7 separate regions of the Homo sapiens genome follow, and all the other regions are linked to region 4. The links are contacts of gene promoters, found by promoter capture Hi-C in blood cells and fetal thymus (Javierre and others, 2016). All regions are on one chromosome and are shown on one strand. The core of a region is centred on a gene start or on the middle of the fragment in contact, and the rest is flanking DNA. Distances in the headings are between cores, read along the strand shown.

What was found. Contacts are between HindIII fragments. The CHiCAGO score rates a contact against its expected background, and 5 or more counts as called.
Region 1: a contact is called between a fragment that was not itself captured here and the fragment with the promoter of ANKRD29 in region 4, in 1 of 17 cell types (total CD8 T cells). The highest score is 5.1, in total CD8 T cells.
Region 2: a fragment that was not itself captured here is called in contact with the fragment with the promoter of ANKRD29 in region 4 in 4 of 17 cell types (total CD4 T cells, total B cells, activated CD4 T cells and 1 more); the score reaches 5.7 in total CD4 T cells.
Region 3: a fragment that was not itself captured here is called in contact with the fragment with the promoter of ANKRD29 in region 4 in 1 of 17 cell types (M1 macrophages); the score reaches 7.3 in M1 macrophages.
Region 5: a contact is called between a fragment that was not itself captured here and the fragment with the promoter of ANKRD29 in region 4, in 7 of 17 cell types (naive B cells, M2 macrophages, naive CD4 T cells and 4 more). The highest score is 6.8, in naive B cells.
Region 6: a contact is called between a fragment that was not itself captured here and the fragment with the promoter of ANKRD29 in region 4, in 1 of 17 cell types (M1 macrophages). The highest score is 5.1, in M1 macrophages.
Region 7: a fragment that was not itself captured here is called in contact with the fragment with the promoter of ANKRD29 in region 4 in 8 of 17 cell types (total CD8 T cells, naive CD4 T cells, M0 macrophages and 5 more); the score reaches 7.9 in total CD8 T cells.

What each region holds. Positions count from the first base shown.
Region 1 is chr18:24,073,182-24,076,403 of GRCh38, reverse strand. All of the region lies in intron 4 of TTC39C (tetratricopeptide repeat domain 39C), which reads right to left. Among named protein-coding and RNA genes, the nearest start is that of TTC39C-AS1, 59 kb to the right of the region's middle. RefSeq lists an enhancer at 1-159. The HindIII fragment of the contact is 4,610 bases long and covers 1-3,222 here.
Region 2 is chr18:24,149,407-24,152,886 of GRCh38, reverse strand. All of the region lies in intron 3 of CABYR (calcium binding tyrosine phosphorylation regulated), which reads right to left. Among named protein-coding and RNA genes, the nearest start is that of CABYR, 12 kb to the right of the region's middle. The HindIII fragment of the contact is 1,147 bases long and covers 1,345-2,491 here.
Region 3 is chr18:23,991,643-23,995,018 of GRCh38, reverse strand. It overlaps TTC39C-AS1 (TTC39C antisense RNA 1), which reads left to right. Exons shown (of 6, transcript NR_110796.1): 6 at 540-806. It also overlaps a transcript of TTC39C not described here. Among named protein-coding and RNA genes, the nearest start is that of LINC02958, 11 kb to the right of the region's middle. RefSeq lists a silencer at 455-514. The HindIII fragment of the contact is 925 bases long and covers 1,069-1,993 here.
Region 4 is chr18:23,661,509-23,665,026 of GRCh38, reverse strand. ANKRD29 (ankyrin repeat domain 29) reads left to right here and starts at 2,116. Exons shown (of 10, transcript NM_173505.4): 1 at 2,116-2,317. The coding sequence starts at 2,297. The HindIII fragment of the contact is 8,557 bases long and covers 1,760-3,518 here.
Region 5 is chr18:24,097,140-24,100,460 of GRCh38, reverse strand. The region is part of intron 6 of TTC39C (tetratricopeptide repeat domain 39C); the gene reads right to left. Among named protein-coding and RNA genes, the nearest start is that of CABYR, 40 kb to the left of the region's middle. The HindIII fragment of the contact is 2,188 bases long and covers 490-2,677 here.
Region 6 is chr18:23,955,886-23,959,474 of GRCh38, reverse strand. LINC02958 (long intergenic non-protein coding RNA 2958) reads left to right here. Exons shown (of 2, transcript NR_199650.1): 2 at 844-1,721. Among named protein-coding and RNA genes, the nearest start is that of LINC02958, 25 kb to the left of the region's middle. The HindIII fragment of the contact is 1,427 bases long and covers 1,521-2,947 here.
Region 7 is chr18:24,121,694-24,124,962 of GRCh38, reverse strand. TTC39C (tetratricopeptide repeat domain 39C) reads right to left here. Exons shown (of 14, transcript NM_001135993.2): 9 at 1,020-1,129. It also overlaps the pseudogene RNU5A-6P. Among named protein-coding and RNA genes, the nearest start is that of CABYR, 16 kb to the left of the region's middle. The HindIII fragment of the contact is 881 bases long and covers 952-1,832 here.

The DNA.
Region 1 (3,222 bases), core at 232-2,731, 410 kb before region 4:
AAGAGCCATACACCCTGCACAGCCTTTCATCTGGCTGCTCTGAAAGGTCAAGTATGAATCATTCAGCTGTCGTTATCGCTGTGTCTGTGGAGGGAGGTGGAGACAGCAGAAAAACCACAGAGCAGGCCGGGCGCGGTGGCTCATGCCTGTAATCCCAGCACTTTTGGAGGCTGAGGCAGGCAGATCACTTGAGGTCAGGAGTTCAAAACCAGCCTGGCCAACATGGTGAAACCCTGTCTCTACTAAAAAATACAAAAAAATTAGCCGGGCTTGGTGGCAGGTGCCTGTAGTTCCAGCTACTCAGGAGGCTGAGGCAGGAGAATAGCATGAAACCAGGAGGTGGAGGTTGTAGTGACCCAAGATTGTGCCACTGCACTCCAGCCTGGGCAACAGACAATCTGTCCCACCTTATGAGGACCAGGCAACAACTAGCTGAGAGATGGAGGGGGCGAGAGGAAACCCTGCCCCATACGGGGACAGAAGTCTTCCCTGGGAAAGGGCAAGAGCTGCTTGCAAAATGGGAATATCAAGTTACATGAAATTGATCTTGGATAAATTTTGTAATTTTTCAGGGGGACTGTATCTGGTGCAAGCATCTATTAAAGCCTGTCTGTCCAACTGTCCCGGAAGGAGGCTGGTTAACCCATGGCAATTCAGGCTTGCCTTTCTTGTGTCTCAAATAATAGAGGTTTTTTTTTTGTTTTTTTTTTTTTTTTTTTGAGACAAGGTCTCACTTGGATTGCTCAGGCTGCAGTGCAGTGGCACTATCTCACCTTACTGCAGCCCCGACCTCCCAAGCTCAGGTGATTCTTCCACCTCAGCCTCCTGAGTAGCTGGGACTACAGGCACACGCCACCAAGCCTGGCTGATTTTTTGTATTTTTAGTAGAGATGGGTTTTGCCATGTTGCCCAGGCTGGTCTCAAACTCCTAGACTCAAGCAATCCACCCACTTCGGCCTCCCAAAGTGCTAGGAGCCACCGTGCACAGGTGTGAGCCACTGTTCCTGGCCCAAGACTTTGAAGGACAAAAGATGATTTAGTTTTCACCAGTCAGCCCACTGCCTCGTTATCTTCAACCTTCACCAACAGACTTTTTTTTTTTTAATTATACTTTAAGTTCTAGCGTACATGTGCACAATGTGCAGGTTTGTTACGTATGTATACATGTGCCATGTTGGTGTGCTGCACCCATTAACTTGTCATTTACATTAGGTATTTCTCTTAATGCCAACCCTCCCCACTCCCCCCACCCCACGACAGGCCCCGGTGTGTGATGTTCCCCACCCTGTGTCCAAGTGTTCTCATTGTTCAATTCTAACCTATAAGTGAGAACATGCGTGTTTAGTTTTCTGTCCTTACAATAGTTTGCTCAGAATGATGGTTTCCAGCTTCATCCATGTCCCTACAAAGGACATGAACTCATCCTTTTTTATGGCTGCATAGTATTCCATGGTGTATATGTGCCACATTTTCTTTATCCAGTCTATCATTGATGGATATTTGGGTTGGTTCCAAGTCTTTGCTATTGTGAATAGTGCCGCAATAAACATACATGTGCATGTGTCTTTATAGCAGCATGATTTATAATCCTCTGGGTATATACCCAGTAATGAGATGGCTAGGTCAAATGGTATTTCTAGTTCTAGATCCCTGAGGAGTCGCCACACTGTCTTCCACAATGGTTGAACTAGTTTACCGTCCCACCAACAGTGTAAAAGTGTTCCTATTTCTCCACATCCTCTCCAGCACCTGTTGTTTCCTGACTTTTTAACGATCACCATTCTAACTTATGTGAGATGGTATCTCATTGTGATTTTGATCTGCATTTCTCTGATGGCCGGTGATGATGAGCATTTTTTCATGTGTCACCAACAGACTTCTAATAGGCTCACTTCTCCAATCCCAATATCTTCCTGAATGGCATTACCTTTCCTCCATTTCCTCCCTTTAATTATGCCTGAGGTTGCAAATTTGTGAATTTTTGCAATCAGATCTTGGCAATGACCTTGAACCGTAGGATATAAATAACTCCCACATGCTTAGCGTTCCAATAATGGAACACTAGGCATGAATGGATTTTAGTATCCACCCACCATGTTCTAGGCAAAAACGTCCTACCAGGTTCTAAGGACACAGAGAAGGAAACGGACCTTCATGCTTTATAAACCTCCTCAGGGATAAGGGATCCTTGATCTTCCCAAAGATTCAGAAACACTTGTTCCCTATTCAACCTCTATAACTAACTTATATGTCTATGGCTGAAGTATCCTGCTGAATTAGAATTTATTTACTTACTTATTTGTTCCTACTGCCAAACCATGAGTTCTCCCAGGGCATGAAGTGCATCTCATTCATCTCAAGACTACCAGCACCTATCATCTCACAGCATGTGGGCACATAGGAAATGCTCAACATATGTGGGGAAGAGGTAAAACAGCAGGTAGATTGCACAGTCCCTGCCCTCAAGGGGTATGTAGCCTAATACTTTAGGCAGACATGTAAATAAATATGAGTATTGCTATGTGATACCTGCAGTAAATGGTGATGTACAGGGTATAAGTAATAGCACAACAAAGGCCAGATTGGCTGGGCATGGTGGCTCACACCTGTAATCCCCACACTTTGGGAGGACAAGGCGGAAGGATTGCTTGAGCCCAGGAGTTCAAGACCTGCCTGGGCAGCATAGTGAGACCCCTATCTCTACAAAAAATTTTTAAAAAATTAGCCAGGTGTGGTGGTACATGCCTGTAGTCCCAGCTACTCAGGAGGCTGAGGCAAGAGGATCACTTGAACCTGGGACCTCAAGGCTGAAGTGAGCTATGATCTCCAGCCTGGATGACAGAGTGAGACCTTGCCTCTTAAAAAAAAAAAGAACCAGGATTGATATGAGGAGGGAATGCTGTACAAAGGAGGAAGGCCTGGGTTGCACTTGATTAAGCATAAGAGAAAGATAAAGGGGGTAGGGGTGTTCCACACTGAGAGGGCAAGGTGAATAAAAGCTCGAGGCAGCAGCGGGTATTCAGGGAGTGTGAGAATCTCAGCTCAGCTAGATGAGGTAGTGGAAGGGCAGGTGGCTGGGAAAGAGGCAGGGTCTTACATGCCCCGCACAAAAGGAATTCAGACCTTCCCTTGCAGGTGAGGCCCACCAGCTAAGTGTTTAAAGCATGGGTTTAAGCAGTTCTGGAAAGATACTCTAGCAGCAATGGAGAGTGTGGCCCAGAG
Region 2 (3,480 bases), core at 669-3,168, 490 kb before region 4:
CAATTCAAGGCCTCCCTATTTTCCCCCATTAGGTCTTAAATTCTCCAACCACTGATTTACTTACCATGAGCGTTTATCAAGAATGCAGCCAATCTAGGGATTGGATTACTGCAATCCCTAGACTGCCTGCACGGGACCTGACAGGTTGCTTGTGGTATGACTTAGGCAACTCTGGAAAGGACCACTTGCTCTTTTAATTAAAAGTGTCTCCCTCACAGGTTCATGGTACCTGAAATTACGTCTAGAAGATTAAAATGTAATTAATTTTTTAAATGTTAAAAAAGCTCAATATTTTTGTCTCTGGAAGTCCCCTGCTAAACAAAAACATCCCTTATAACCACCATTCTGGAAAGGTAAAGCATTTATAATTATGAATCCTTAACAATTTACCAGGGAATGTATGATATTGTTTTCTTCCCTGCAACTTTCTCATAGTAAAAAAGTTAATGAGAAAACCTAGGTTCTAGTCCTGGTTCTGAGATTTAATAGCTGCATGACCAAGTCAACTGTTCCAAGCTTCAGGCCTCCTCACTTGCAAAATGGGGATTATAACTCTGACTTCATGGAGTTTCTGTGGACACTAAGTGAAATAATGCATCTGAAAGCACTGAATAAACTCTAAATCACATATAAATGGGGAAGGAGTGAATCAGTACCCATTTAAAAAGTGATACAGAAAAGTTTTGAAAATGTGATATCAAATTAAAAATATAAATCTCAAATATCTTTAATTCAGCTTTGATTAAAATTAAATTGGCTATTTCCTAAACTGGGTGGTAAAATACAGGATGTTTTTTCTTTATATGTGTGTGTTATATACTTATGGACTTTTTCATAATTAAAAACTGAGACCAGATGCCTTAAACTTTTATAGTGTTTTTGCAAATGCAAACACTAGGTCAGGCACGATGGCTCATGCGTATAATCCCAGCACTTTGGGAGGCTGAGGCAGGCAGATCACTTGAGGCCAGGAGTTCGAGACCAGCCCAGCCAACATAGTGAAATTCTGTCTCTACTAAAAATACAAAAATAAGCCAGACACAGTGGCACATGCCTGTAATCCCAGGTACTCAGGAAGCTGAGGCAGGAGAATTGCTTGAGCCCGGGAGGTAGAGGTTGCAGTGAGCTGAGATTGTGCCACTGCACTCCAGCTTGGGCAACAAAGCTAGACTCTGTCTTTAAAAAAAAAAAAAAAAAAAGCCAACACTAGATCAACCATTTGGCTTTGTTTGGAATACATGAAAGAATGCTGGCAAATATATACTTACTAGTTACTATACACATATAATGTAAATCTATATTGAGTTCATGTCATTATCTGTTTATTAAGAAGGGTAAAAAGCTTTTCTCTAATGTTTTAAGGTTAGCTTTAAATACTTACAACAGTCGCTGACTTGTAACCTTGAGATTATGTCGGTTGTATAAGACAGAATTTCTTCAAGTTGCAAACTAGGTTTGCTAAAGGTTGATCTTTCAACCTTATGAAGATTAACCCACTATGACTTTGGTGATCTGGTTCTACTTAAGCTGACAAAACTATACACACTGAGAATTAGGAACATAACTAAAGGCATTCCTTCTTGTAAAAAAGTTCCTTTTTAAGTATAATAAAATGACTCAAATTGGCTAACTTTAAAATTCATTGCAGAATCCTGATTTTCCATGAAACCAGTAAGATAAAGAGATAAATTCCAAGCATATGGTATTTTTTTAAATAGGCACAACTCATGGAGATTCAGGGTACTGAAGTACATAACTGCCCAAGAAGCATAAGGAAAAGGACATATTCTGGCATGGAATGGGAAATCTGAAAGGTATCAAAGACCACAAGTGTATAAGCAGCAGGGCCTAACAAGAGATACGAGAGGCTGTATAAGAATTGGAGGTGGGCCATCCTGGCTAACACGGTGAAACCCTGTCTCTACTAAAAATACAAAAAATTAGCCGGGCGTGGTGGCGGGCGCCTGTAGTCCCAGCTATTCGGGAGGCTGAGGCAGGAGAATGGCGTGAACCCGGGAGGCGGAGCTTGCAGTGAGCTGAGATCTCACTACTGCACTCCAGCCTGGGGCCAGAGTGAGACTCCGTCTCAAAAAAAAAAAAAAACAAAAAACAAAAAAACAAAAAAACTGGAGGTGGGAGGTGGGAAGCTCAAAGAGAGTGCTTAAAGTCAGGAATATGTATGGTACGTAATCTTTTAAGAATTTAAAACAAAAGATTCCAACTAGTCTGTATTGAACTGATTGGAATGAGAATACCAGAGACTATAAAGTAGGTGGTTTAGTTTCTCCCCTCTTCCTCCTTGCCCTTCCATCCATTCTTTCTTCATTCAACAAACATTAGTTGCACCATCTATCAAAGAGGAATAAGACTTCCTAAAGATCTCATTCTGATTAAGGATACAGGCAGATGATTGATTATATGACAATGTAGTCAGCACAGTGACTGAAATATGTATGGGGTACAGTGGCTTTTAGGTAATTTTGGTTAAGCTTTAGAAATAAGGAAAACGTGTGAAAGTGGCTAGTAATTTGGACTGTAGGAGGTGGAAAGCAAAAGAGGGCATGGCCAGTTTGAGGGAGAACAGCCATTCAGCCTATCCTAGGTAATCTCTCCCACGCCATGCCCCTTTGCCTTGCTTCTCCTCTTGGTTCTCCAGCACTGCCATCAAACTTCTCTGGGCCACAGTGAGCAACACCAAATGCAGTTTGGCATCTCTTTGGCTTTGTCCTTCCCTCTTCTCTTCCGGGTCTATTTCTGTCTCCCTCACCCCATTGAGAAGTGACAGCGTGCTGCAGTCCTCAGAGCCCTTGCTCGCTCTTGGCGCCTCCTCTGCCTGGGCTCCCACTTTGGCGGCACTTGAGCCCTTCAGCCCACCGCTGCACTGTGGGAGCCCCTTTCTGGGCTGGCCAAGGCCAGAGCCGGCTCCCTCAGCTTGCAGGCAGGTGTGGAGGGAGAGGCGCCAGCGGGAACCGGGGCTGCGCGCCGCGCTTGCGGGCCAGCTGGAGTTCCGAGTGGGCATGGGCTTGGCGGGCCCCGCATTCCGAGCAGCGGGCCGGCCCTGCCAGCCCCGGGCAATGAGGGGCTTAGCACCCAGGCCAGTGGCTGCATAGGGTGTACTGGGTCCCCCAGCAGTGCCAGCCCACCGGCGCTGTGCTTGATTTCTCGCCGGGCCTTAGCTGCCTTCCTGCGGGGCAGGGCTCGGGACCTGCAGCCCGCCATGCCTGAGCCTCCCACCCACTCCGTGGACTCCTGTGCGGCCCGAGCCTCCCCGATGAGCACCGCCCCCTGCTCCACAGCACCCAGTCCCATCGACCACCCAAGGGCTGAGGAGTGCAGGCGCACGGCACCAGGACTGGCAGGCAGCTCCACCTGCAGTCCCCAGTGCAGGATCCACTGGGTGAAGCCAGCTGGACTCCTGAGTCTGGTGGGGACGTGGAGAACCTTTATGTCTAGCCCAGGGATTGTAAGTACACCAATCGG
Region 3 (3,376 bases), core at 282-2,781, 330 kb before region 4:
ACACGTGATAAAGTGACAGAGAACTATACACACATTTTACCAAAGTCAATTTCATGGTGTGAGATGTAACCATTAGGAAAATCTTGTGGATTATAATTATTATTATTTTTTTTTAAAAAAAAGGAAAAGATCCTGATGTCCAGGCCACTCCCAGACCAATGAAATCAGAGTCTCTGAGGGTGGAGTTCACGCATCAGCGCGTGGCCCTGGTGATGACTAAGTGCAGCCAAGTTGCAGTTTATTATAAGGCAGTTCATAGATGCTGCTGCTGCTGCTGCTAGCATTTCATCTGCTGAGAATCACACTCAGTAGCAACAGCCGTCCAAGATACAGCCCTGCGGGGCTTTGAGTGTTAACGTTGGGTGCATAGTGATGAGGCTTTTTTAAAGCCTTGAAACGGGGCCAACTGGTAATACCTAAGGAACGTAAGTACCATTCAGTGTGTTTGTGTAAGCCCTGGCTATGAGGGGAGGGGCGAGTGGGGGAAGCACATGATGTTAAACTAGGCTAATGGGTTTAATTTTCCTTTGTTTTCCTAGATTTCCTGGCAAACAGAAAAAGCTCTCTTGGTCTTTAAAGTTCATGACAGATTCCCTAAGTGTTTGTAAAACATCTGCCAACCACACTGATGGGCTCTCACACAAAGGTTTTGGAAATACAGACTGATTTCCTTTGGTTACTAAAACTGATTTTTTTTTTTTTTTTTGGTTACTACAATTGATTTTATCTCTATAATTTTCTTCTCTGTCATCTTATTTTAAACAAAAACCGTGGCACAAAAATAAAGTGATGGTTTTTGAGGAAAACATATCTATTTGTTTTTCTTTTTGTATCTTCAGCCAAAACATCTAAGGAATAATAATGAAAATAATAGAAAATCTTTTGCACTGGGAAATTGTTTCCCTCTGTTTTTAGCCTTCATTTATTTTTTTGCCAGAGCTTCATATCTTTTCAGAGATTCATGTGCATAACAGTTTTAAATGTTTTCCAAAATGAACTTCTCCAGCTGAATCTCAGAGAAGAAAGCTTTGTTAATGGCAACAATTCATTTAAGATTAATATGAAGCTTTCTGGATGATTGTTGGTGATGTCATATGAACCATTAGGGTGGTGCAAAAGTAATTGCAGTTTTGCCATTAAAAGCAATTATTTTTGCACAAACCTAATACCAAAACATCTAATGTCAAACTATGGTCCATTTCTATTATATTTCCCAAGACAATTAAATTAGTATATAATTTTTTTCATAGATTTTCAGTTTATAATATGTAGTGAAATTAAATAATTATCTAGAATAGCATTGCTAATTGTGACATTACTTAAATATTTATGAAAAATAAACTTTGATCTGGCATTTCACTCACAGCTGGTCAAGGCTAGTAAAAGATGAGATTCTAAATTTCACAGCTGGAGGCCTACATTTCGATCTTTATACAAGATTTAATGAAATTCACAGTGACATTTTTAGTTATTTTGATACATTCTCAACCAAGTAGGAGTACAAGATCTATAAGTGAGGGTCTAGTAAATTATTTGATATGAAAAGGGGTCCGTGTACTTCATAATAATTAGTCATAACAAGTGCTATGGCATTTATTGAGCATCTGTGTGTGGACATTTTGTTATTGTAGATATTTTCTATTAACCTGATATTAATGCATGTCTTTACACCCAACCCTCCAAGGGATACTATGCAAATGCTTTAACATCTGGCATTTGTTGAAAAATAGCAGAGATTTTAAAGAATGGCACTGAGAAAGTCTTGCCACGTTTTTATGGAAATCCATTCTGGAAGCATTTCTTTCCATTATATGTCTTGTCTATTTCATATTGAAAGCCCTTTTATCACAGCTTCAATTTGCGTTAGTATTTTACCATCAAAGATGAACTTAGCCAGTGCAATGACAACATGATAAAAACATAAAATGATACAATGATTCTTCTTGTTTATCACTTACCCTGTCTCATTAAGCCACTTACCACAAAAGAAGCTTGAGATTTCTTAGGAGCAAGATTTTAGAATTCTTAGGACTCAGCCTTTCTGAGCCAGTGGCAGGATAGTTGCTTCTAAAGAGGCTGTGTGTGTAGGTGCTGGAGGGGTTAGGTCTCCAGGAGGGACAAGATGGGCAGCTGGAAATAAATTCAGAATCCTGCCTCTGTTGTAGCAAAACTCTCCATTCTCTTTCTCACCTTTTCTCAGAACCTGCTTACATAACTGTGGTTAACCTATATGCGTAAGCATGATTAAAAAGATTGACACAGCCTGGCAGTCTTTTCTGTGCTATGCACCCAGGAGCACAGCCCTTGGGCCTGAAGCATTGGCAGCGGGCTCTGGCTCTGTGTGTGGCGCAGGTCAGTCCGGCCTGCCTGCCAATTACTCAGTAGTTATGTCCAGGGAGAAGCAAGCCATGCTTGTTAGGCAGATTGCTGCACTCTGAGCACAAAAATGTCAAGGGCACATAATTACTCCTAATGCAAAAACATAGAAAAGCTGCAATTAAAAGGCAGTGGAGCAGTGCCTTTCTTATTTCTGGAGAGACTGGAAATTACAGTAAGGCAGCACACTGGGCTTTCTCTGCCTCCTAGTATACACAAATATTTTCAATTAATTACAACGTGTAATGGTATATTTATTTTTGGATCTCCTGTCTCCCCATAGGCTTCATGTGAGCAAAGACCACATGTCTGGCTTGTTCACCACTGCACACTCCCAGGACATGGTAGGAATTCAGTGACTATTTAATGAATGGATGACCACGGTATTTCAGTTTTAGGAAAGAATTTCCAAATACATTTTTCCCCATTCATTGAGTCCTTATTTAACCAAGTTAACTAGACAATACGTCCTCTACATTGTTCATGGGGAATTACTGAGCCAGACCTGGGGGAAATGACATAATATCCTATTAATTTTTTTTAAAAAATTATTTTTAATGTTCGTGGGTATATAATAGGTATACATATTTATGGGTTACATGACATATTTTGATATAGGCATGCAATGCCTAATAATCACATCAGGGTAAATGGGGTATCCATCCCCTCAAGCATTTATCCTTTGTGTTACAAACAATCCATTTATATTATTTTAGTTACTTTAAAATGTACAATTACATTATTTTTTGCTATAGTCACCCTGTTGCGCTAGCCAATACTAAGTCTTATTCATCCTATTTTTTTGAACCGATTAACCATCCCCATTTCCACCTACTCCACCACTACCCTTTCCAGCCTCTGGTAACCATCCTTTTACTATCTCAATGAGTTCAATTATTTTAATTTTTAGCTCCCACAAATAAGTGAGAACATATGAAGTTTGTGTTTCTGTGCCTGGCTCATTTCACTTAACACAATGATCTCCAGTTCCATCCATGTT
Region 4 (3,518 bases), core at 867-3,366:
CATTTTAGAAAGAATTGCCTGTTGTGACCATGAGAGCTTTGTTCCATTTCAGAGCTGTTTATATGAAGATGAGTTTAACCGCGTGTGTCAGACGGTGTTAGGCACGTTCTTTCCAGAGACTGACAAGAATCCCATCAGCACCCTGGCCAGAGAAAAGCAGCTTTGAGCTCAAGTGTAACGGAAAGGAAACAGGCTTTGGAGCTAGACAAACACCTAGCCCTATCACTTATTAGCAAATTACTCCAATCTCTCAGAATCTTAGTTTTTTCATCCGTGGAATGGGTTAATACTCACCCCATAAAATGTTTATAAGGAAAGCACCTTGTACCTAGAAAACACTCAAAATATTAGTTCTTTCCTTTCTCCCTTTTATTTATCAAAACTATTAAAGCAGACCAGGCGCGGTGGCTCACGTTTGTAATCCTAGCACCTTGGGAGGCCGAACCAGGTGGATCACCTGAGGTCAGTAGTTCGAGACCAGCCTGGCCAACATGGCGAAACCCTGTCTCTACTAAAAATACAAAAATTAGCTGGGCACGGTGACAGGAGCCTATAATACCAGCTACTCGAGAGGCTGAGGCAGGAGAATTGCTTGAACCCGGGGGGTGGAGGTTGCAGTGAGCCAGGATCATGCCACTTCACTTCAGCCTGGGCAAAAGAGCGAAACTCCATCTGAGAAGAAAAAACAAACAAACAAACAAAAAACTATTAAAGCAAAACCTCTGATGCTTGATTTTTATATAATAACGTTGTGTGGCAACTTAAAAACTGTGTCATTTATAGGCACTCAAGGCAAGGAAAATGTTTAGAGTCCTTATTTTTAAAATTGGAATTTTCTATAAAAGTTCAGAATGTTTTTAATTTAAAGTTGTTTTAAGCACAAAGTAATACAATTTATCCATGAAGGTTAAACATTTTAATTTTTATCATTAACTTTTATTTGTAATTGTTTTCTACCTTTTAAATTAAATATTCGTTACAAATTTAATTGAGAAGAGGGAAGGAGGGGGAGAATGAATGAGTGGATTCTTATAGTTTGAGGGGGTAAGACCTCCATTTTTATACTATTTTTTTGTTTTGTTTTTATTTTTATTTTTGAGGCAGAGTCTTGCTCTGTTGCCCAGGCTGGAGTGCAGTGACCGAATCTTGGCTCACTGCAGCCTCAACCTCCCAGGTTCAAGCGATCCTCCCACCTCAGCCTCCCGAGTAGCTGGGACTACAGGTGCGCACCACCACGCCTGGCTAATTTTTGTATTTTTAGTAGAGATAGAGTTTTGCCATGTTGGCCAGTCTGATCTCGAACTCCTGGACTCAAGTGATCTGCCCGCCTTTGGCCTCCCAAAGAGTTGGGATTATAGGCGTGAGCCACTATGCCTGGGCTACTTTTTTACTTTCACTTTTCTAAAATGCTCTCAAAGAGCTGTTGTTGCCGTTTATACTTAAAACTCCCAGTTTTACTTCGCCCAAACCAATCCTGGGCAGGCAGCAGGAGTGGACACACATACTGCAATACTCCAGGGCTGCAGCATCAGACCCAGAGGAGGAGGGAACTGCTGGATTAATAACGCGGAGGAGGAGGAGGGGTATGAGTCTATTCCAAAATTGGCCTTTGCCCTTCAAAGAGGAAAAGACCACTTATTGTTTGTGCAATCAAAAGGTTTGTTTCCTAGATATTTTCCCCAGGAGAAAAAAGTTTCCCAGGAAACCGAGAAAGAAATTATAACGAAAATAGCTATTGGATGAATTTTTTCCTCAAGCTTCATTTTTACATCATTATAATATTTGTGCTGTAATGAAGGTTGGGAGTCCTCTGGGGCAGACCAGTCTATTTGGGAGGATATGTATGGAGTTTGTGTGTGAGTACATGCGGGTGAGTGGGCGTGAGTGTGGAAAGTATGTGTGTGGAACCTCTGTGTGTGTGGAATGTGGAGCGTATGCACAATGTGTGTGGAGTTTGGAGTGTGTGTGTGGACGAGTGAGTGTGGAAGTGTGGACGTGTGTGGAAAGTGCACAGTGCGTGCGGAGTTTGGGGTGTTTGTGCACGCGCGTGTGTGGCAGGTCCTGGAGCGCGTCCACGCGACACCCCATGTGTAGTGTGCGCGCGCGCGCGCCCCCGCGCCGCCCCTTCGGCCCGGCCCTGTGTGCGGCGGCTGCTGCCGGGCCGGGCGGCGGGAGCGCGCGGCGTCGGAGGCCGCCCCTCTGCGGAACGCCGAGAGCCCCGGGAGAGTGAAGGGCCGGGGAGGACAAGGCGCCCCGGGCCCAAAGCGCGCCGGCTCCCGCTCGGGCGGCCGCGGACATGTGCAGGATGTCCTTCAAGGTGAGCGACCGGGACTCCGGGGTCAGGGCTGGGGCCGGGCTCGGGCGGCCGGGCCCGCGGGGTCGGGTGGGGTGGGATGGGGTGGGATGGGGTGGGCGCTGCCCGCTGCCCGCCGCCTCCTCCTTCCTCTCTCCTCCAGCTGCGGGCGAGGCCCGGGAGGAAGCGGCGGGGCTGGGTGCGCCCTGTGGGTTTGCGGTTTGCCTGCCTGCCCTGCCTGAGAGGCTTCGCACTCATGGCTGTGGATCGGCTGAGTCTGTGCCCGGCGACGGGGCGGCGGGGACTGTCGCCGGGTAACAGGTCGGGGGCGGGTAAGAAGCCTGGGGTCAGCGCTGTCCTGCAGCAGAAGGAGTCCCCGACCCTGACCCTCTGGGTCCTCATGCAGGAGTACCAGCTGCACCCACGGATGCCTCCTCCCCGGAGGGGTGGCCAGCACCCAGGGAGGCTTCAGGGTCCAAAGGTGTCTTGTCTCAAAAGAGTTGATTAAAGTCATTCCATCTAATCCCCACATTTTAGGATGAAAGAGGTTGATTTGCCTCGATTGAAAGGGTTTAATAAAAATAGCAGTTAAAATGTATTAAACAGTTCAAATGTGCCTGACTCTGAACCAAGGACATGGTGTGTATGGTCTCAACCCTGGGGGAGACCTGTGGGAGGTGCTCTTCGTGGCTCTTTTTTTTTTTTTTTTCAAATGAGAAAACTAAGATATAGAGAAATTAACTCACCCACGGTTTTGCAGCCAATAAGTTATGGTGTTAAGACTGAAACCCAAGTGTGTCTGACTCCTAAGCCACTGTAATCCCGTTGCCGACAATAGCTCATGTAAGCAGAGGAGTGACATGGCGAGATGTGCATGTTGCAAAGATCTCTGGCTAGGTTTGGAGAAGAGGGTTGGAGCTGGAAGATGTTGTCATCTTTTTAAGAAATGGTACTGGACCAGTGCATAGGTGGTGAGAATGGAACGAAGCAGACGAATGTGAATGACTTTAAAGTTTTTTTTCCTGAGACGGAGTTTTGCTCTTGTTGCCCAGGCTGGAGTGCAATGGTGTGATCTCAGCTCACTGCAACTTCCGCCTCCCGGGTTCAAGCTATTTCTCCTTCCTTACCCTCCAGAGTAGCTGGGATTACAGGCGTGCGCCACCATGCCCAGCTAATTTTTTCGTATTTTTAGTAGAGACGGGGTTCTGCCATGTTGGCGAGGCTG
Region 5 (3,321 bases), core at 334-2,833, 440 kb before region 4:
CCAAGATACCACTGGGATCCCCATCTCACTGAGGAGGGAAGCAAGGCTTAAAGAGGTGAAGGGCCAAGGTCACTCGGCCAGAGTGGAGGGGCCAGGATTCATCCCAACAGTGGCCTCCAGGGGTGAGCCCTAAACCCTGAGCTTCTGCCAGGCGGAGGACAAGGGCCACAGACTCAGAGTAGGCCTTCCACACAGGTTATTAAAGGATGTAAGATGAATCATAATCATAATCAGATAATTAAGACACATCACAATGAACATTTAATAAAACCTTCAGGCTCCCTAAACACCCTGAATGTGATCAAATCCCTAATCCCAGAACACAAATATCCAACTATTCTAATACAACAAATGTGTTATGATAAACTATTAAGAAAAACTGTAAAACAAGCTAAGTTAAGGGAAACTAGAAACGATGGAAATTTTAAAATGAGTTGATTAAAAAAATCAATCTCTCTCTCTCAAAACCAATATGATAATCCAAAAGCTTAATCATAAAATTAAGAAAACACAAATTAGTCTAATAAAATAATATCACATTTTTACAGATCTGAAACTAGTATTAAGTTATATGTTTGGAAAGTAATAACTAGAAATGGAAAACTATAATATAAAACTAAAATGGATATAAGTAAATATATATTAACATTACAGAAGAAATAAGGGAAGTTATTAAAAAACTGATTTCAAAAGGGAATTTCACAGCAGTAAGTTACATAAGAACTCCTTCCAATGTTTAATGGCAGTTTAATTACTTTAAGTGATCTGTTTCTCCAAAATATGGAGATATAAGAAAGCATATAAAAAAGATACGCTTTTAGCCAAATCATTAAAAACAAATCAGGTCTATTCCTAAAGCCTAGTAAACACAAGTCCCAGAAATATTTATATTCACATTTAAATACATACATATATATATTAATTGCTAAGTTACATATATCAGTTATATATTATATATAACATTGTTATGGAATGCTCCTGCCTCACAAAATTGATACATGAAATCCTAACCCTCACTGGAACTGTATTAGGAGGTGGGAGTTTTGTGAGGTAATCAGATCATGAGGGTGGAGCCCTCATGAATGCAATTTGTGCCCTCATAAAAGAGACCCCTGAGTGCTCTCTAGCCCCCTTTCCACCATCTGAGGACACAGTGAGAAGCCATCATCTATGAACCAGGACATGGTCCTCACTAGACACCCAATCTTCTGGCACCTGGATCTCATGCCTCCAGAACTGTGAGAAATAAAAGTGTGTTGTTTTAGTCACCCAATCTATAGTATTCTTTTATAGCAGCCCAAACTAAGACACACACATACACACACACACACACACACACACACACACGTTTTATATATATATATGTATATATGTTATATATATGTATATATGTTATATGTATATACGTGTATAGATATATATATACACACACACACACACACACACACACACACATTCCTCTAACTTATTAGCAAATAAAAGCAGTGGGATATACTAGAAAAAACACTCGATTAAAAAAAGAAAGCCTGGGCTGGGCGCAGTGACTCATGCCTGTAATCCCAGCACTTTGGGAGGCCAAGGCAGGAGGATCACTTGAGGTCAGGAGTTCGATACCAGCCTGGCCAACATGGCAAAACCCCGTCTCTACTAAGAATACAAAAATTAGCCAGGTGTGGTGTTGGGCACCTGTACTCCCAGCTACTCAGGAGGCTGAGGCAGGAGAATTGCTTGAACCGGGAGGCAGAGGTTGCAATGAACCAAGAACGCACCACTGCACTCCAGCCTGGGTGATAGAGCGAGACTCCATCTAAAAAGAGATGAAAAAGAGACAAACAGAAGAGAAGAGAAAAGAAGAAAGAAAGGGAGGGAGAGAGGAAAAGAAAGCAAGAAAGGGAGAGGAGAGGAGAGGAGAGGGGAGGGGAGGGGAGGGGAGGGGACGGGAGGGGAGGGGAGAGGAGAGGATAGGAGAGGAGAGGGAAGGGAGAGGAGAAAAGAAAGGAAAGGAAAGGAGAAAGGAAAGAAAGGAAAGGAGGAAGGAAGGAAGGAGGGAGGGAGGGAGGGAGGGAGGGAGGGAGGGAAGGAAAAGAAAGGAAAGAAAGAAAGCCTGAATTCTAGGTCTTCCTTAATCCTAAAATAACTATGTACACTTTCACAAAGTACTTATCTCATCTGGACCCCTGCTTGCTATATACGACAGGACAGACATATGCAAAAATTTTATAGTCAAAATGGGAGAAATAAAAGGTGACATGACTAAATGAAGACATATCCTCAGTGACTGATAAGAAATATTATAAACATAGTATCAATTTAAATTTCCCATTAACAGAGAACCTGAGAAACTGATAGTTATGTATATATGTGAGAGAACAAGTGGATAAAAAATAATATAATATATATTTAAAAGGCAATCATGATATTCTTGTTTTATTTAAGACATAGGCAGGGTCTTCAAAATGGTCATAGAAAATGTGCATTATAATAAAACTATGCATGAATTTCAAATTTTTTTACACCAAAATAAGCCCATACTAACTTGCTATAACATGTCTGAGCAGGATCTAGTTTGAGGCACTAAGAAGCATAAGACATCAACTTGAAAAGAGCCCCTATCAGAGCAACATAAATTCTGCATTTAAATGGAAGCAAGAACAAACATAAAACCTATGGTGAAGCTTGGGTGAAAGAATGGTGAAATCACTGACACTTTACAAAAAGTTTATAGGAATAATTCCCCAAAGAAATCAGCAGTTTGCAAATGTATAAGTTTACGAAGGGCCAAGACGATGTTGAAGATGAAGCCCATGGTGGCAGACCATCTACACAGATTTGCAAAGAAAATATTAATCTTGTTCATGCCCTAATTGAAGAGGACTATAAATAATAGCCAACACCATAGACATCTCAATTGGTTCAGCTTACACCATTCTGACCAAAAAAGATGAGCAAAGTTTCACTTGATGGGTGCCAAAACCACTGCACCCAGATCAGCTGCAGACATGGGCACAGCTTTCAATGGAAATTGTAAATAAGTGGGATCAAGATCCTGAAGTGTTTCTTCAAGGAACTGTAATAGGAGATGAAATGTGGATTTACCACTACAATCCTGAAGACAAAGCACAATCTAAGCAATGGCTACAAAGAGGTGGGAGTGGCCTAGTCACAGCAAAGACAGCAAGAGCAAAGGTGATGGCAACAGTTTTTTTGGGATGCTCAAGGCATTTTGCTTGTTGATTTTCTGGGCGTGGGGACAAAGAATGATAACATCTGCTACTTATGAGATTGTTTTAAGAAAGTTAGCCAAAGGTTTAGCAGCAAAAC
Region 6 (3,589 bases), core at 985-3,484, 290 kb before region 4:
CTCATTGTGGGAAAGTGGGAAGAGATAGTTTATAGGAAACTAAGGAATAGGAGAAAAGCCCCCTGGGAGCTGGGCTAGGCAGAAGCTGTCCCAGTAGCAGCTGGTCTTTGGCCCAGGAAGTGCCCCTGATGTCCTAGGATGCATTTCATCCTCTGGCAGAACCCCTCCTCCCCCACTAAGGACACTGCACTTCTGGGGAAAACATGGATGTTTGGGATTTTTTCTCCCTTGACAGCACTGCCGTTGAATACTAGCTATGCTCAACCACCTGTTTTCCAGAATATAACCTTTATGTGTAAGGAAGCATATTTCCTACAGGAATAGTAAATACCTTCCGAGATGTGCCTTTCGAATGGACACCATGCCAAGCTGCAGCTCCGCCACACAGCTCCATGCTAACTGTTTAGAAATGCATGCTCCCTGAGTGTGAAACGATTAAAGTTAGTGGTTAATATGCAAAAGCCTTTTGAGCAAGTGATGATTTAATCAGTAAGTGTGTGCTGCTGTGTGACCTGTGTGCATTCGCAAGACTCAAGTGCTGCAGAAAGTTCCGGCCCTCTGCCCTCTGAAACTCCCAATTCTCATTTTATCAAGGGCTCAATGTAGAGTAAAATAAACCACACATTCAAAATGTATGGAGAAAGAAATCTTCTGGAAATGGAAAGTTACACTTTATATACTGGGGTCATACAAGTCTTTATGAGCGAGGCAGAAAAGACATTTCCAGTCAATAGCATTCACCATCTCAGGCCCCTGTCCCTCTACTTTGGGAGAATTACGTTCCTTGCCCTGAGGATGATTAACAAGGATATCCCCGATTTCATCTCTGCTTTCTATTCCCAGCTACGCAGACATTGTGCTGGAATTTCTATGCTGAAGAATTAAGCTATATTGTTTGGCAAAAGAAGAAACTGAAAACAAGAAATCCATCCCTTTCTACCACTGCTATTATATCATCCACGTTTAAAAAAAAAAAGTTTGTATGTAGTTATATACAACAAGAAGTTTCTGCTTCGGATTTCTCTGTTGGGCAGGGTGGTGGGAGGGATGGGGTCTCGAGTTTTTCCCAAGTGAAATCCTGGTAATCCTGCCTGAGAGAATTCTTATGAAAGTTTCACTCACAATGAAAGCAAACTTCCAAGGTGGAGGAGGGTGAAGCCGGCTGGCTGGACCGATCACTGAGGCCCAGTGCTGCGAAGAGAGTTCAGCACATTATTCCAACCCTTTCTGGGAGCACGGCCCAGGCTTGGCACCGGTTTGGTGTTCTCGAGTGTGATGCATTCTGAAAACCTGGCTGCGTCCGTGGCCCAGCTCCAGTTCTGCAGGGCTCAGCATCAGGCTGCCCCCTCTCCTAAGGTGTTTTGCAGGATCGCCCCTCAGAGCTAAACACCCACCAGCTGACCACCTGTTCCAGGTGATGGGATTTTGGCTCAGATCAGCCTGGATCAGGGTGGACCTCTACAAGCTGGCTTGCATGAATGTAAATGTCTGCTGCCCATCTTGAAGACCATCGGCAAGCTTTGGTGGGTTCATATTCAGTGGCATTAGGGATTAAGGCAAACTTAAAATGATTCTGAGTGTAAACAGATACAGATATAAACTTTTGGGGGAACAATTTGGTAATAGCTAATAACAATCGTTAAAATGTTTATATCCTTTGACCTGATAGTGTTAGTTCTAAGAATTTACCTTAAGAAAATAAATAAATTTATATCCCATGATATCTTCATTTTAGTGTTGCTTGTAATTGCAAAAAGAAAAAAAAAGAAAAGAGAAAAAACCCCATTTACTGAATAATTGGAGGGTGGTTAAATACATTACGGTAAATTCATCTGATAGAATAAAATGCTCTACAGTTAAAGACCTAGGAAACACAATAGACTTTGCAAAACCATATAAAAACAATATATATGGTATCATCATGATTTTTGTAAAAAAATACATGTGAATTAAAAGACTAATGAACATATAACTATATACAAACAGATTTCGGAGTGGTGAGATTCTAGGTGATTTTAATGCCTCTCTGCATATTCCAATTTTTCCATAACGAACACACATACCACTGATATTCAATAAAAAAAGGTTATTTTAAATTTTTTTCTACCCATATGCTGACTGTAAGTCCTCATTCCAAAGGAAGAATAAGACCTTTCGGGGGCTACCACTGACCTGCCCAAGTTGGAATTAGTAAAAAGAGAACTGGGGAACCGGAAGAGAAGAGTTAGAGTGGCTGGCAGACGCTGAGGTGTGAGGGGTTTTCAGTGCAGCAGTTTTGGGGGTTGGGGAGAGTAGAGAAAGGAGCTGAGTTCAAGTTCTCTGTGGGGAAGTGGGACCACATCCTGCCTGGGAGAAGGGAAGGTCAGTGAGTTCTGTCCGGGGCTGCTGTCCTCTGGTACAGGGATATTATGAGCACGGCAAAAACTCAATAACTGTACGTATTAAGGAGTGAGGTCAGCCAGCACCTGGAGGGATGCTGAAGAAGGCAGGCCCGTGCAGACCCACGATTGCTTTACAGTTACTTGGTGCCCCTGAAGTGCCTGCTGCCCAGGGAGATGCACTGTTTCCAGTCCCCAATCCACTGAACGAAGATGGAACAATGGTGGACCCATCGTGAACTGGTCAGTGTTGTCTACCAGAGATCCTGCTGTCCCTCCCGAGACTCTCCTCACAAGGTCGGCCCAATTTGTGTGTGCCTATGAGCCAGGAAGAGCATACCAGTGACAATATTTGTATAGCATTTGATAGTTCACAAACAATTCTCATGAAAGTTCAGTCAAGGAGCTCTAGACATTCTTTTCAGGAAACACATATTTACAATCTGCAAATAGCCACACTGAGGGTGTTCTTTTTCCTCAGCTGTAATTTCATCTGTGACTCTCTCTGCTGCTTTCTGGTGGCTGGAACTGTATTCAGCAAGGGCAGATAGGTGGCTGTTCTTCAAGCTTTTACGAAATGGGGGAAAACCATCGGTATTAGTCAGTGAGGAATAAACTAGCCCTTTCTTTTTGTTTTTCTTTTGCTTTTTTAGACACAGGCTGGAGTACAGTGGGGTGATCCTAGTTCACTGCAGCCTCAACCTCCTGGGCTCAAGTGATCCTCCCACCTCGACCTCCAGAGTATCTGGGACTACAGGCATGTGCCACCAAGCCCAGCTAATTTTTTTTTATTGTTTTGTAGAGACAGGGTCTTGCTATGTTGCCCAGGCTGGTCTCAAACTCCTGGCCTCAAGCAATTCTCCTGCCTTGGCCTCCCAAAGTGCTGGGATTACAGGTGTGAGCCACCACACCTGGTCATTACCCCTTTCTAATGAATCTAGGAAGTGCTAACAAATAATCGGCACCAGTGAATAACTCCTTAGATTCAGTGAGGTTAACACTGGGGACCCAGAAGAGAGAACCACCGGCTTAGTGTAGACCTGCCAAAGGCAGGTGTTAAAATGGATGATCCTCTTGCAGACTCAGTTCCTGGCTGGTCATCACCTGGTGAATTTTTCATTTTAAAATCAATATTTCAAGAAAGCACATAGCTTAGAGTCATGTAGTTTAACCTCCAACCCAACATGGCATCCCTAAGGACCACCACCCAG
Region 7 (3,269 bases), core at 143-2,642, 460 kb before region 4:
CAAGATTACGCCATTGCACTCCAGCCTGAGCAATGAGAGCAAAACTCCGTCTCAAAAACAAAAACAAAAAAAGACGCAGTGTATATTCTGAAAACTTGGGGATGAAACTAGATTTACATGCATTTAGAGTGACAGAATTTATAAAGCTTGGTGACAGCTAATAATTCAACGGGCTTACACACACCTAAGGAACTAAGACTAGATGCCTTTTAGTCACAGTTCTCTTGATTTTAAAATTTTCTACTGAGTGCCAGTGCTCTCTGCTGTACATTATAATCAAATTTATACTCAAAAGCTTCATTAAATGTTCATTCAATAAAAACATATAAAACTAAAATAACTGATAATTCAGGATATAAGACACTACATAACTCAAGGTAATACGGCAACATTGTATTCACAGAAGTACAGAATACATAGGAATACTGTCTCTACAGTCTTGGGCCTTTCTGCTGGCAACTGTGACACTGTGACACACACATTTGCTTTTTATTACATCAAAATGTGATGTGTTCTCTATTCTCAACCCCAGACAGCCTGCATTTCTCACTAGGTCCTGCCAATTTGTATTCTTCCAAAACCACCCAATTCTTTAGACAGATCCTTTCTCTCTAGAGGTGTGTTCATTAGCTCTGCAGAACGTATAGTCTCCATTCATTAAAATTTAAAAAAAAACTATACTCCAGTTACCCTTCAGATCATATATATCTTTCACCTTTTGCTAAAGATTTCCATGAAGGGGAACCACTCTGAGTCTTAACCCAATTTTTTGAGGCCCTGTATCTGCAGGACTCATCGATTTTTTAAAAATCTGCTTTCATTATTTGCAGCAAGGCAAGAATCTTCTATTCAGAGCAGATGTACAATCATGGAGAGAATCCTCTGCATGGCGGTGAACTGCACTTTATGTGGCAAGTAAATAGGCAGCCTTGAATATAATTTCCTAAAGCTTGCCAAGGCAGTGTTGGTTACAAATGCCCATCATAAGTAATACACCAGATCAATAGGCTCCAACATACCTTTTTCACCGAGAACTGTTCAATCTGATTGTTTTTCCTTTTGAAGAGTTTCTGAACTTCTTTAAAGACAATCTGTGCCCCATCCACATCACCAGTGGCTCCCTGACAAACTGTAAGAAACCATAATTATATTTCTTAAGTACAAGTCAGGGAAAATGCCATAAGGGATACCTGAAGTGATGATACTTGAAAAAAAAAAAAGCAGGAGCAAATATGTTTAAAGACTATTCCACAATGGGCTGGACATGGTGGTTCATGTCAGTAATCCCAGCACTTTGGAAGGCAGAGGCGAGTGGATCACCTGAGGTCAGGAATTCGAGACCAGCCTGGCCAACATGGCGAAACCCCATCTCTGCTAAAAACACAAAAATAAGCCAGGCGTGGTGGCACATGCCTGTAATCCCAGCTACTTGCGAGGCTAAGGCAGGAGAATCGCTTGAACTTAGGAGGCAGAGGTTGCAATGAGCCGAGATCGCACCACTGCACTCCAGCCTGGGCGACAGAATGAGACTCTGTCTCAGAAAAACAAACAAACAAACAAACAAACAAACAAACAAAAAAAAGACTGTTCCACAAAGGACTGCACCGTCCTGCAGTCCTTCAACTATTTCCCAGGTTCCTGTGTTCCCAGAGCTTTTGGGGGACCTGGGGAAAGCCATGGTCCTTGTCCTCTTGTTGGGGAGACAGTTTTTCACATAACAAAATCCTTAGCTACTGTCACAGTGTACAACCTAGTTAGGGCTCACATACTCAAAGTGGAATAAATAGGAACCCAGGAAAGAACAATGAAGAGCCCCGAGGATCATGAAAGCTTCGTGGTAGAAGGAGGAGTTCTCTGTCCTAGGAAGTCATCAATCTGTCCTGTCCAAGTTCCTTGGCTGCCTACTACCTATAAGCCACCAGCAACAATGTGAAGAAGAAACACATGTGCTTGAATCCTAAAGAAACTGAAATTACAATTGAAAAGATCACACATGCTCACACACGCACATAGGGTCCCACAAGCTGCAATGTATGTAGTGATAGGAGTAGTCAGGGTAGGAGAACCAAAGTGGTTTTCAGAAGGCTCAGAAAGAGAAGGGATCATTTCTCTCTGGAGTGACCAGACGCTGTAAGGAGCTAGGAGAAGTCGAGCGGAGTCTTGAGGAATGAGTGAGATTTTGATCATGATCATGTGCACACCTTCTTCTCACCTCAGGCCCCAAAGATTTAATGATCCTCCCTTTGCTGTGTCTTCTCTGTCCCTTATGCAAACTTTGCACTGGCTGCAGCCCCACTACTGCTTGAAACTTTACCACAACTCCATCCTTTCCTCCCAACTCTGATGCTGCGGAATCCATTTCTATTCAATTTTGTTAGATCACATGTGGTTTTTCACTCCCCAGTTGGAATGCACTAAAGTTGACTTGCTAGTTCCCTCTTCTTTTTTTTTTTTTTTTTTTTGAGATGGAGTCTTGCTCTGTCACCAGGCAGGAGTGCAGTGGCGTGATCTCGGCTCACTGCAACCTCCGCCTCCTGGGTTCAAGCAATTCTCCTGCCTCAGCCTCCTGAGTAGCTGGGACTACAGGCACATGCCACCATGCCCAGCTAATTTTTGTGTTTTTAATAGAGATGGGGTTTCACCATATTGGCCTCTTGTACTCGTGATATGCCTGCCTCAGCCTCCCAAAGTGCTGGGATTACAGGTGTGAGCCACTGTGCCTGGCTAGTTCCCCCTTCGTTACCTGAGCACCCCTAAAAGTAGGTTGGTCCCGTACTCGCATTTGGGCATGGTCAAGCAGTCACCTATCCCAGGCGTGCACGTACCAGGATAGGCTACCATCGGCAGAGCCCAAGGGTCCAAGAATTGAGGCTCGGAGAGAGCTGAGGATGCAAAGACAATGGGAAAGACGGCAGGTTCCTCCTACTGGGATTAAGAGTGATGAGGCTGAATATTCAAAGGAAGGGACAACTCCTTTCCCAGTCACTGGGGCATCTCTGGTCCAGATGGAGGAGTGTGCACCAATCCAAAATGACCTTATCAATTGCAGCTGTAACATTTCCAAACCAGAATGAAGCTCAGTGGCTGTATTGTGCAACCAACCCCATTATTTTTAGATCAGAGGATGCAAAGGTCTGGAAAAGCTGAGCATTGCCTAAGGTCACAGAGTAAATCAATGAAAAAGAATATATTTCTGCTGTCCCTAGCTTGAGGTCTTCCTCAGATCATTGAGAACATTCTTATACAATCACATAATTAAAGCCAGTCAT